Regions from separate parts of the Homo sapiens genome. Here region 2 is linked to region 1. Evidence: promoter capture Hi-C in human tissues and cell types (Jung and others, 2019). All regions are on one chromosome and are shown on one strand. The core of a region is centred on a gene start or on the middle of the fragment in contact, and the rest is flanking DNA. Distances in the headings are between cores, read along the strand shown.

The links. The method cuts DNA at HindIII sites, captures the fragments that hold promoters and counts their contacts. A contact is called where the count stands out against the background at its distance.
Region 2: a fragment that was not itself captured here is called in contact with the fragment with the promoter of FAM89A in region 1 in 1 of the 25 tissues and cell types used here (bladder).

What each region holds. Positions count from the first base shown.
Region 1 is chr1:231,037,957-231,042,522 of GRCh38, forward strand. It overlaps FAM89A (family with sequence similarity 89 member A), which reads right to left and starts at 2,298. Exons shown (of 2, transcript NM_198552.3): 1 at 1,965-2,298. The coding sequence starts at 2,255. RefSeq lists an enhancer at 976-1,657 and silencers at 1,320-1,399, 2,040-2,089, 2,350-2,459. The HindIII fragment of the contact is 5,242 bases long and covers 56-4,566 here.
Region 2 is chr1:231,084,852-231,089,417 of GRCh38, forward strand. No RefSeq gene overlaps it. Among named protein-coding and RNA genes, the nearest start is that of FAM89A, 47 kb to the left of the region's middle. The HindIII fragment of the contact is 5,041 bases long and covers 99-4,566 here.

The DNA.
Region 1 (4,566 bases), core at 1,048-3,547:
CAGATCAACACAAACTATTTTGCAGATATCTCAGGAATGAACTCCCAGTTCTTGTTTTGCAAGGCCTCCCCAGAGGGAGTCTCAGCTTGAGTTGTCCACTCAGACCCCATGGCCCCAAGTCAGTAAATCAATTAAAAAGCCGAAAGATTCTCTGGGCAACTTTAAAGGCCTTGTGACATTTCTTGAAAGGAACTTGTCAAAACCTGCAGCCATATCTTATCTTTATCTCAGCTAAATACCAGGCAGACCAAAGATGGCTGTTTATTTTTCTTGTGCTTCAAATAGGCTTACAGAGAGCTCTGGTCCAAGGCGTAATTATACGGATGTGGTTGTGCTTCAGTCACACCAGGAGGGACCTGGAAAAATACTTCTGGGAATGGCACGTTGACTCCCAAGCCACCATAGCAAGACTCCAGAGCATGTTTATAAACCACAGCTTCACAACAGGAGCGGCCCCGAGGTTTTTCTATCTCTTGCTCAAGTATGGAATTTAAATAATCAAAGATGATCTTCCTACTTCACCCCCGTGGTTCTGCTATGTCCAAGTTCAGACTGTAAACACACTACGTGTAGATTTATCTAATTAAAATGCAGTTCACCAGCTGTGTGATGCTTATGTCAATGAATGTTTTTTAATAAATTAAAAACGGTTGGCTTGGAATTTAAGTGGTTCTGTAAGAAGCTTAGAAAATCTTTTCAGTGAGAATTGGAAATCACTTCAATGCCAGCTACAGAGTAGGAAGACAATATCTCTTTGATTAAAAGTGTTAAGGCTGCTTTCTGAATTCAATTAAGTCTTAGTTTTCAGAACAGATAATGCTCCTGAAAAAAAAGTATGCATACCCTGAATTTTTCTAAACAATATCTTAAATGCACTAGATACATATTTAAAAGATTCCTATAACAATTTATTTTTTGGCAAATTTAGTTTTGGGAAAAGGCAGCTTTCCTAATGTTAGATTTCTTAACAATTTACCTATAGGGAAAGGAGACAACCTGGACGAGGTGAATGGAAAGGGAGGCTTTTAAAACGAGGGGATTGGGAGGAGGTGATGGGGGCCAGTAAGATGGTAGAAAAGAGGAAAAGTTTTTGATTTCTTCTTGCCTGGCCTACGCCTGGCCGAGAAAGCTGGGGAAAGACTCGCTGTTGCCTAAATCCCTGCCCTTGTCCTACTTTTAGCGTCACCCTAAATCATGTGTGTTCTGGTCCACAAACAGCTAATGTACTTCCCAAGCACAGAGAAACACTGAGCCCATGGTATGGAGCTTAGACACAAGGCGAAGAACTCACATGGACAGCACCCAGACCGGGAGGACAGCCACCTCCCACCTTTCTCAAGAGGGTTTGGGCAATCAGCTTCGCGGGGCTGAGGGACCCGGCCGCCTCCCTCGCCCGGGGTGCGCGTCTGCTTTCGCAGCCATCTGTGCGCCGGGGCCATCCCGCGGTAATCGGATCACGGACGCGCGGCCTGGGGCGCCGGAAAGGGGGCCGGGCTGTTCCAATCTGCTGTCTACACTGGCGGCGGACAAAAGTTGTCCTCTTCGTGGTAGGAAAACGCAATCGCGTTAATCCGTTGGGCCGCTGTGAAAGCCTTTCCCCCACCGGGAAGGTCTGTTTCACTCGGGGAGAGGTGACAAGGCCGCCCCCGCCCCCAGGCCAGGCACGAACCCCGCACAGCGCTTCCGGGCGCCCAGGTTTCCGAGCCAGCGGGGCCGGACTGAGGGCGCCGGGCATAAGAAAGCCGCCCTCTGCGCGCGGGGCTCTCCCGCGGGGGTTCCAATCGTGGGCACGGAGCACGCGAGAAAAATGGGGGTCGTTGGGAGGACGGCGCCGGCGCCTGGGGCGGAGGAGCCCGAAAGGGCGGGTGGGCGCGGGGACTTCCGGACAGAGCGCGGTCCCCGCGAACTTTCCCGGGACGGCGAGCCCGGCCGGGAAGAGCCCCAGCTCGCGGAGCCCCACTCACCATCTCTTTGCGGAGCAGCGCCAGAGCGGCGTCCAGGTTGGGAGGCTTGGCGGGCAGCGCTGCCGCCCGGGCCCCGCCGCCGCCCGGGCCCCCGCGGCTCAGCTCGTCCTGGATGCGCGACTTCTGCGCGTACAGCCGCTCCAGGTGCCGCCAGCCCCCAGACGCGCCGCCGCCCGACGCCGAGTGCAGCAGCCCGCTCAAGCTCTTTGGCAGCGGGGGCAGCCCGTCCACCCGCAGCCCCCGGACCGCGCCGTTGCCCGCGGCCCCGGGCGCCGCCCGGGCCCCACTCATCGCGCCGCGGCCCGGCCACGCGCCTGCCCCGCTGCAGCGAACCAAGGCTTTCCCCCGGCCCGCCCCCTTCCCGGCGGTGCCCCGCCCACTTCCCCTCCCGCGCCACGCCCCCCCGGCCCCGCCCCCTCTCCTCGAGGCCCCTGCGCGGGCCCCGGGTCCGGGTGGCGTCCGCGTCCAGCAGCCGGGCTCGCCTCCACCCGGGTCTCCTCCTCCCTCGCGCCCCTCCAGCGCCCTAATTCATCTCCAACTCCGCGTGACTACCCTCTAACCCCCCGACTCACCTCCAGCCCCGTCACGAACCCTTCTGTGCCACTCCCTAGCTCCGAACCTACTAAGCCCCCCGCGACCCGCAGCTTCCCGGTTCACCCCCATCTCTGTCCCCACCTCCTCTGAACCACCTCCCAGCTTCCCGGCTCACCCCTAGCTCCGAACCCTCTCACCCGCGCCACCCCGAACCCCAGCTTCCCGGCTCACCCGCATCTCTGTCCCCACCTCCTCTGTGCCAACCCCCAGCTTCCCGGCTCACCCCCAGTTCCGCCCCCACGCCCTCTGTGCCACCCTCAGCTCACTGGCTCACCCTCAGCTCCGAACCCACTCACCCCCCACCCCAGGCTTCCGGATCACCCCCATCTCTGCTCCCACCTCCTCTGTGCCACCCCCAGTTCACTGGCTCGCCCCCAGCCCCGTCTCCACTCCCTCTGTCCCACCCCTCAACGCCCGCTCACCTCCAACCCGGCTCCAGACTTCCCCCTTACCTGCCAGCGCTCCTCAGCTCCTTGCCTCACCGATCCCTGCCCTGCCCAGGGGGCGGCCCAGCTTCAGATCCCACGAAGCAGGCCGTTGCAGGGGGTGGGGGTACCGAGGCTCTGGCTCACAACCGGCAGGACGTCGAGGGCAGGAGGCCTGGCTCTGGTCCCAGGACCCCCGGCCCTCCCCGAGGGCGGAATCCAGCCCGCCTCCTGCTGCCTCCCACTCGCCGCGGGGGGCGGCTGGGGGCCCCAGACCCGGGCAGGTCGCTCCTTGCCGCCGGGCGCGCTGGCCTTCTCAGCACGGCCTTGTCCAGCAGTACCCGCAGCAGTCAGCAAGAACGCCAGACCCACTTTTGAAACTTCAAAACACTAGTAAACATGCCTTTCATTCTGGCCATAAACACAAGAGTAACTCTAAGTGGAAATGTCAGGAAACCAGAGAAAGGGATTAAATCTCGGAAATTATCCATCAGCTCAGGCAAAAATAAACACGACGCACACCTCAGAGGAAAAGAGAAGAGAGAGAGAGACTCTGCCCCTCCCAGGAAAAGTAAAAATGACAGGCAGTTATAACCAGATTAGAGATAGAAAAGATCAAGAAGTAAACGCTACAGCCCAACCGCAGATTAAAAACTAATGCAGTGTATAGATTGGATAACTTTAATGCCCATTCATTATTGGCTTTAATTATAAAGGGATTTAATTTTCTAGCTACATTCAAGGGGATCAAAATTATAAAGTGTTCTGAGCACTTCAGACACCCAACATAAAAGAGCCCTGCACTTTGGGTTGTTTTATACCCTTTACCACCTCCTAGAGCCCACCCCAGAAGCAGTGTCTTTGAAATTGGCACAATATTCTCCCTGGACGGTTGCAAGTGGGTGAGACTGATATGAAGAAGCTTTAGTGCAGGCGGTGTGATTGACAGCACCCAGGCTTCCCACCCCACCCACTGCCCAGAATTTTCCGCCTCTTCACTGTGCCTCACCTTCTACTAATTACCTAGTCACATTTCTGGATGTCAGGTATTTATTCATTCACTTATGTAAACGGTGGGTGTCTTCAGGAGAGTGACCAGTCTGCCTGTGTGGGAGTAAGGGAGAGGAAGGGGTGGGAAGCATTTTGACATTCGGTTCACACCTTAGCATGAATTTTTTTTTTTTTATGAGACAGTCTATCACTCAAGCTAGAGTGCAGTGGCGTGATCTCAGCTCACTGCAACCTCTGCCTCCTGGGTCAAGCAATTCTCCTGTCTCTGCCTCCCAAGTAGCTGGAATTACAGGCATGTGCCACGACGCCCGACTAATTTTTGTATTTTTAGTAGAAATGGGGTTTCACGATGTTGGCCAGGCTGGTCTCGAACTCCTGACCTCAGGTGATCCACCCACCTCGGCCTCCCAAAGTGCTGGGATTACAGGTGTGAGCCATCGCGCCCAGCCTGCATGAATTTCTTTAATTTCACTGGTTACAATGCAGTCTCACCTGTAGTACCTAGCAGAAATCACTCAAGGTAGGTGATAGGAGATTCAGCTATGTGATGGTGAAATAAGAAAAGAAATCAC
Region 2 (4,566 bases), core at 1,369-3,868, 47 kb after region 1:
GTGGTGAGCCGAGATCATGCCATTGCACTCCAGCCTGGGCAACAAGAGCGAAACTCCATCTCAAAATAAATAAATAAATAAGTAAGCTCATAGTATGTATGCATAAAATATTCAATTCCTTTTTCTTTCAACTCTAAACAATCTTGAAAGAATGCCACAATTTACTGGTACCATAATACTATATGAAAATGTCCTGTTGCATAAGACACAATAAGGTACATAATGAACGTCTATAGAGCTGAGAAGATAGCTTTCATTATGATTTCATTTTTCTTTTATTCAGTTCTTATTTGCAGTTTTATCCAGTTTCTTTGGCGTAGAGTCCTCCTTTACACTTGTTGATATGTCCATTTCAGTATCTTTAAACATAGAAGTCGCAGCTATGGGTTGAAAAAGCAAATCTTCTCATCTCTCTGTTTAAAGCCAACGATCCATCCTCCTCAATTCTGAAGATGAAGCTTTGGCTCTGTTTTCAAGTTCTTGATAGATTCTAATCAGTAACCCTTTGTCAATTTGTGTTGTGAATGTGTTCTACCAGTTTGTGGCTTATGTTTTCACTCTCTTTATGATGTGTCTTGATGAACAGAAGTTCTTACTTTTAATATAAAGTGTGTTGATCTTCCCCTTATGATTTATATTCTTTGTGTCTCATTTAAAACATCCTTTTGTTTTAAATATTGTCTTGTAGAAATTTTATAGTGTTGTCTTTCACATTTTAGACTTTATCTGGAATTGATATTTGTATACAATGTAATGCAGGGATTTGATTTCATCATTTCCCCCACTCATCTGAAATGCTACATTTGTCCTAAATGAAATATACATATACATGGGCCTATTCCTAGGTCCTCCATTGTGTTTATTGTTCAGTGGGTATATCTTGTGCCAGTACTACACTGTCTTTATTATAGCTTGGAAAATTATAGCTTACTTATTATATTTCATAGGCAGGTCTCTCTACCTTGTTCTTTTAAGGAGTGTCATGACTATTCTTGACCCTTTTTTCATCCTTATAAATTTCAGGAAAAGGCTTTTAGATTTTATTTAAAAAGAAGAAGGAGGAAGAGGACGAGGAGGAAAAAATGGCAAAAAAAGAAGATGGAGAAAAAGCAACAGCAGCAAAGAAAACAACTGTGTGGGAATTTTCATTGGAATTGCATTAAAATACAGATTGGAAGAGAAATTACATTTTAAGATATTGAGCCTACCTATTTAGGAATATGGCATATTTTTCATTTGCTTAGGTGATCTTTCATGATTTTCGTTAAAGTTTTATCCTTTGTCTCCATAAAGGGGACTTGAATATTAGATTTGTTCCTAGGCATTTTACCTTTCTGTTGCTAGTACAAATCTTTTTTAAAATTACCTTTTATAACTGATTAAAGTAGGTATGTAGAAATGCAATTGAAATGCAGTCAAAATATTGATTTTGTATTTAGCCATATAGTTTCTGGGTTTTTGTTTTGCAATGGGGGTCTCACACTGTCTCCCAGGGTGGATTGTAGCTCACTGTAACCTTGAGGTCCTGGGCTCAAGGGATCTCCTTCCTCATCAGCCTCCCGAGTAGCTAGAACTACATGTGTGTGCCACCATATCCAGCTAATTTTTGTTGTTTTGTAGAGCTGAGTTCTCACTATATTGCCCAGGCTGGTTTCAAACTCCTGGCCTCAGATGATCCTCTTGCCTCAGCCTCCCAAAGTGCTGGAATTATAGGAATGAGCCACTGCACCTGAACTAAAATCTCTCTTTTTTTTTTTTTTTTTTTTTTTTGAGATGGAGTTTCGGTCTTGTTGCCCAGGCTGGAGTGCAATGGCGCCATGTTGGCTCACTGCAACCTCTGCCTCCCAGGTTCAAGCGATTCTCCTGCCTCAGCCTCCCATGTAGCTGGGATTACAGGCATGTGTCACCACGCCCAGCTAATTTTGTATTTTTAGTAGAGACGGGGTTTCTCCATGTTGGTCAGGCTGGTCTTGAGCTCCCAACCTCAGGTGATCCACCCGCCTCGGCCTCCCAAAGTGCTGGGATTACAGGCATGAGGCACCGTGCCCGGCCAAATCTCTTATTAATTTTGATAATGTACCTGTAGATTCTTTGGGGTTTTCTACATAGGCAATGATATCATGCTCAAGTAATAACAGTTTTGTTTCTCCCTTTCCAATCCGTATTTTCCCCCTTGTTTTACTGCACTGGCAAAGAAGTGAAATCAATTGTGCTGTGACTTTTTTCCTGATCTTAACAAGATGAGTTCAATATTTCACCTTTAAGTATTGTGTTTGCTGTAAGTGTTTTGCAGATGCTTTTTAAAAATCAGCTAAGGAAGTCTCTTTTACTCCTAGCTTGCTAATAATTATTTTAAAAATAATGGATGATATTAATATTATCAATTTTTTTGCATCTATGGAGATACCCTGTCACATCCACCAAATTTTTTAAAATCATAGCTTATCTGACAGACGTGGCAGCTCATCCCTGTAATTCCAGAACTTTGGGAGGCCAAGGTGGGAGAATCGCTTGAGCTAGGAGTTTGAGACCACCCTGAGCTTCATTAAATCATTCTGATATTTCTACTGTTCAGGAAGAAGTAAAGATTTTTGTTCACTTTACACTTTAAGTTAAATATTGTAATAAAATATTCAATGTAATCTCTAAACCAGTGCTGTCCAACAGAAACAAAATGCTAGATTATATATATAGATATATATATATTTATATATAAACACACACAACGAATGCAAGATGCATATGTAATTTTAAGATTTCTGGCTGGGTATGGTGGCTCACACCTGTAATCCTAGCACTTTGGGAGGCTGAGACAGGTGGATCGCTTGAGACCAGGAGTTTGAGACCAGCCTGGGCAACATGGCAAAACCCTGCCTCTTACCAAAAATACAAAAAAAAAAAAAATTAGCTGGGCATGGTGGCATGCACCTATAGTTCCAGTTATTTGGGAGGCTGAGGTGGAAGGATCACCTGAGTCCAGGGGCGTCGAGCCTGCAGTGAGCTGAGATCGCACCACTGCATTCCCGCCTGGGCGACAGAGTGAGACTCTGTCAAAAAAAAAAAACAAAGAAGGAAGGAAAGAGAAAGAGAGAGAGAGAGAGAGAAAAGGAGGGAAGGAAGGAAGGAAGGAAGGAAGGAAGGAAGGAAGGAAGGAAGGAAGGAAGGAAGGAAGGAAGGGAAGGAAGGAAGGAAGGAAAGGAAGGAAGGAAGGATTCTAGTAACCACATTTTAAAAGAAGACACAGGTGAAATTAGTTTTAATTATATATTTTAGAAGGCCCAGCATGGTGGCTCACACCTGTAATCTCAGCACTTTGGAAGGCTGAGGTGGAAGGATTGCTTGAGCCCGGGAGTTCAATACCAGTCTGAGCAACATACTGAGACTCCGTCTCTAAAATATATATGTATATATAAATGTAAAGCAATAATTAACAGAGGAATGAGCAGAAAATTTCAAATCTACCATCAATAGTGGAAATTATGCTATACTTCTCTTTGTAATTGATAGAACAAGCAGGCCAAAAAAATCTTTAAGGATATAGAAGATTTGAAGGGCATATTAATATATCGGGTTAGTTGATGAATTTATGAAGAACATTGCCTCTAAAAATTAGAGAATATATATTATTTTCAACCACATGTAATATTTTTAAAAACTAGCCATAGGCTAGATCATAGAGCAAACTTCAACAAATTTCAAATGACTGGAATCATACAGATCACATCTGGCAACAATACAATTAAATCCATGACAAAAAAAGACACCAAGAAAAATCTCCAGCACATAAAGGATATCAAAAAACACACTTCTACATAGCTCAGAGGCAAAGAAAGCTGCCACAATGGAAATTTTTAAAACTTAGGACTGAGCCATAGCAAATGTAACACATATACAAATTTTTAGAGTGGCAAAAACAAAACTTTGAAGGACATTTACTGTCTTAAATGCTTACCTAAGAATAGAACAGAAGCTCAGATTAAATGAGCTAAACATCTAAATTAAGAAGTTTAAAAAAAGTAGAGTAAAACAAAAAGAAAAGAAATAGTAAAGGTGGCAAAAATTTTAAAAATATATAACAATCATACAGTAGAAAGATCATAAGGCTAAATATTGGTTCCTTAAAATACTATTAAAATAGCTCAAACTCTGGCAAGATTTATCAAGGAAACAAGGAAGAAAGCACAAATAAATAAGATTAATAATAAAAGAAGGCTATGACAATAAATGCAACAGAGATTTAAAATATGATATGAAGGCTGGGCGCAGTGGCTCACGTCTGTAATCCCAGCACTTTGGGAGGCCGAGGCAGGTGGATCACCTGAGGTCAGAAGTTCAAGGCCAGCCTGGCCAACATGGCAAAACCCCGTCTCTACTAAAAATACAAAAATTAGCTGGGCATGGTAGCGGGCACCTGTAGTCCCAGCTACTCAGGAGGCTGAGGCAGGAGAATTGCTTGAACCTGGGAGGTGGAGGTTGCAGTAAGCTGCAATCGTACCACTGCACTCCAGCCTGGGTGACAGAGCAAGACTCCATCTCAAAAATAAAATAAGATATGAATAATTTCAT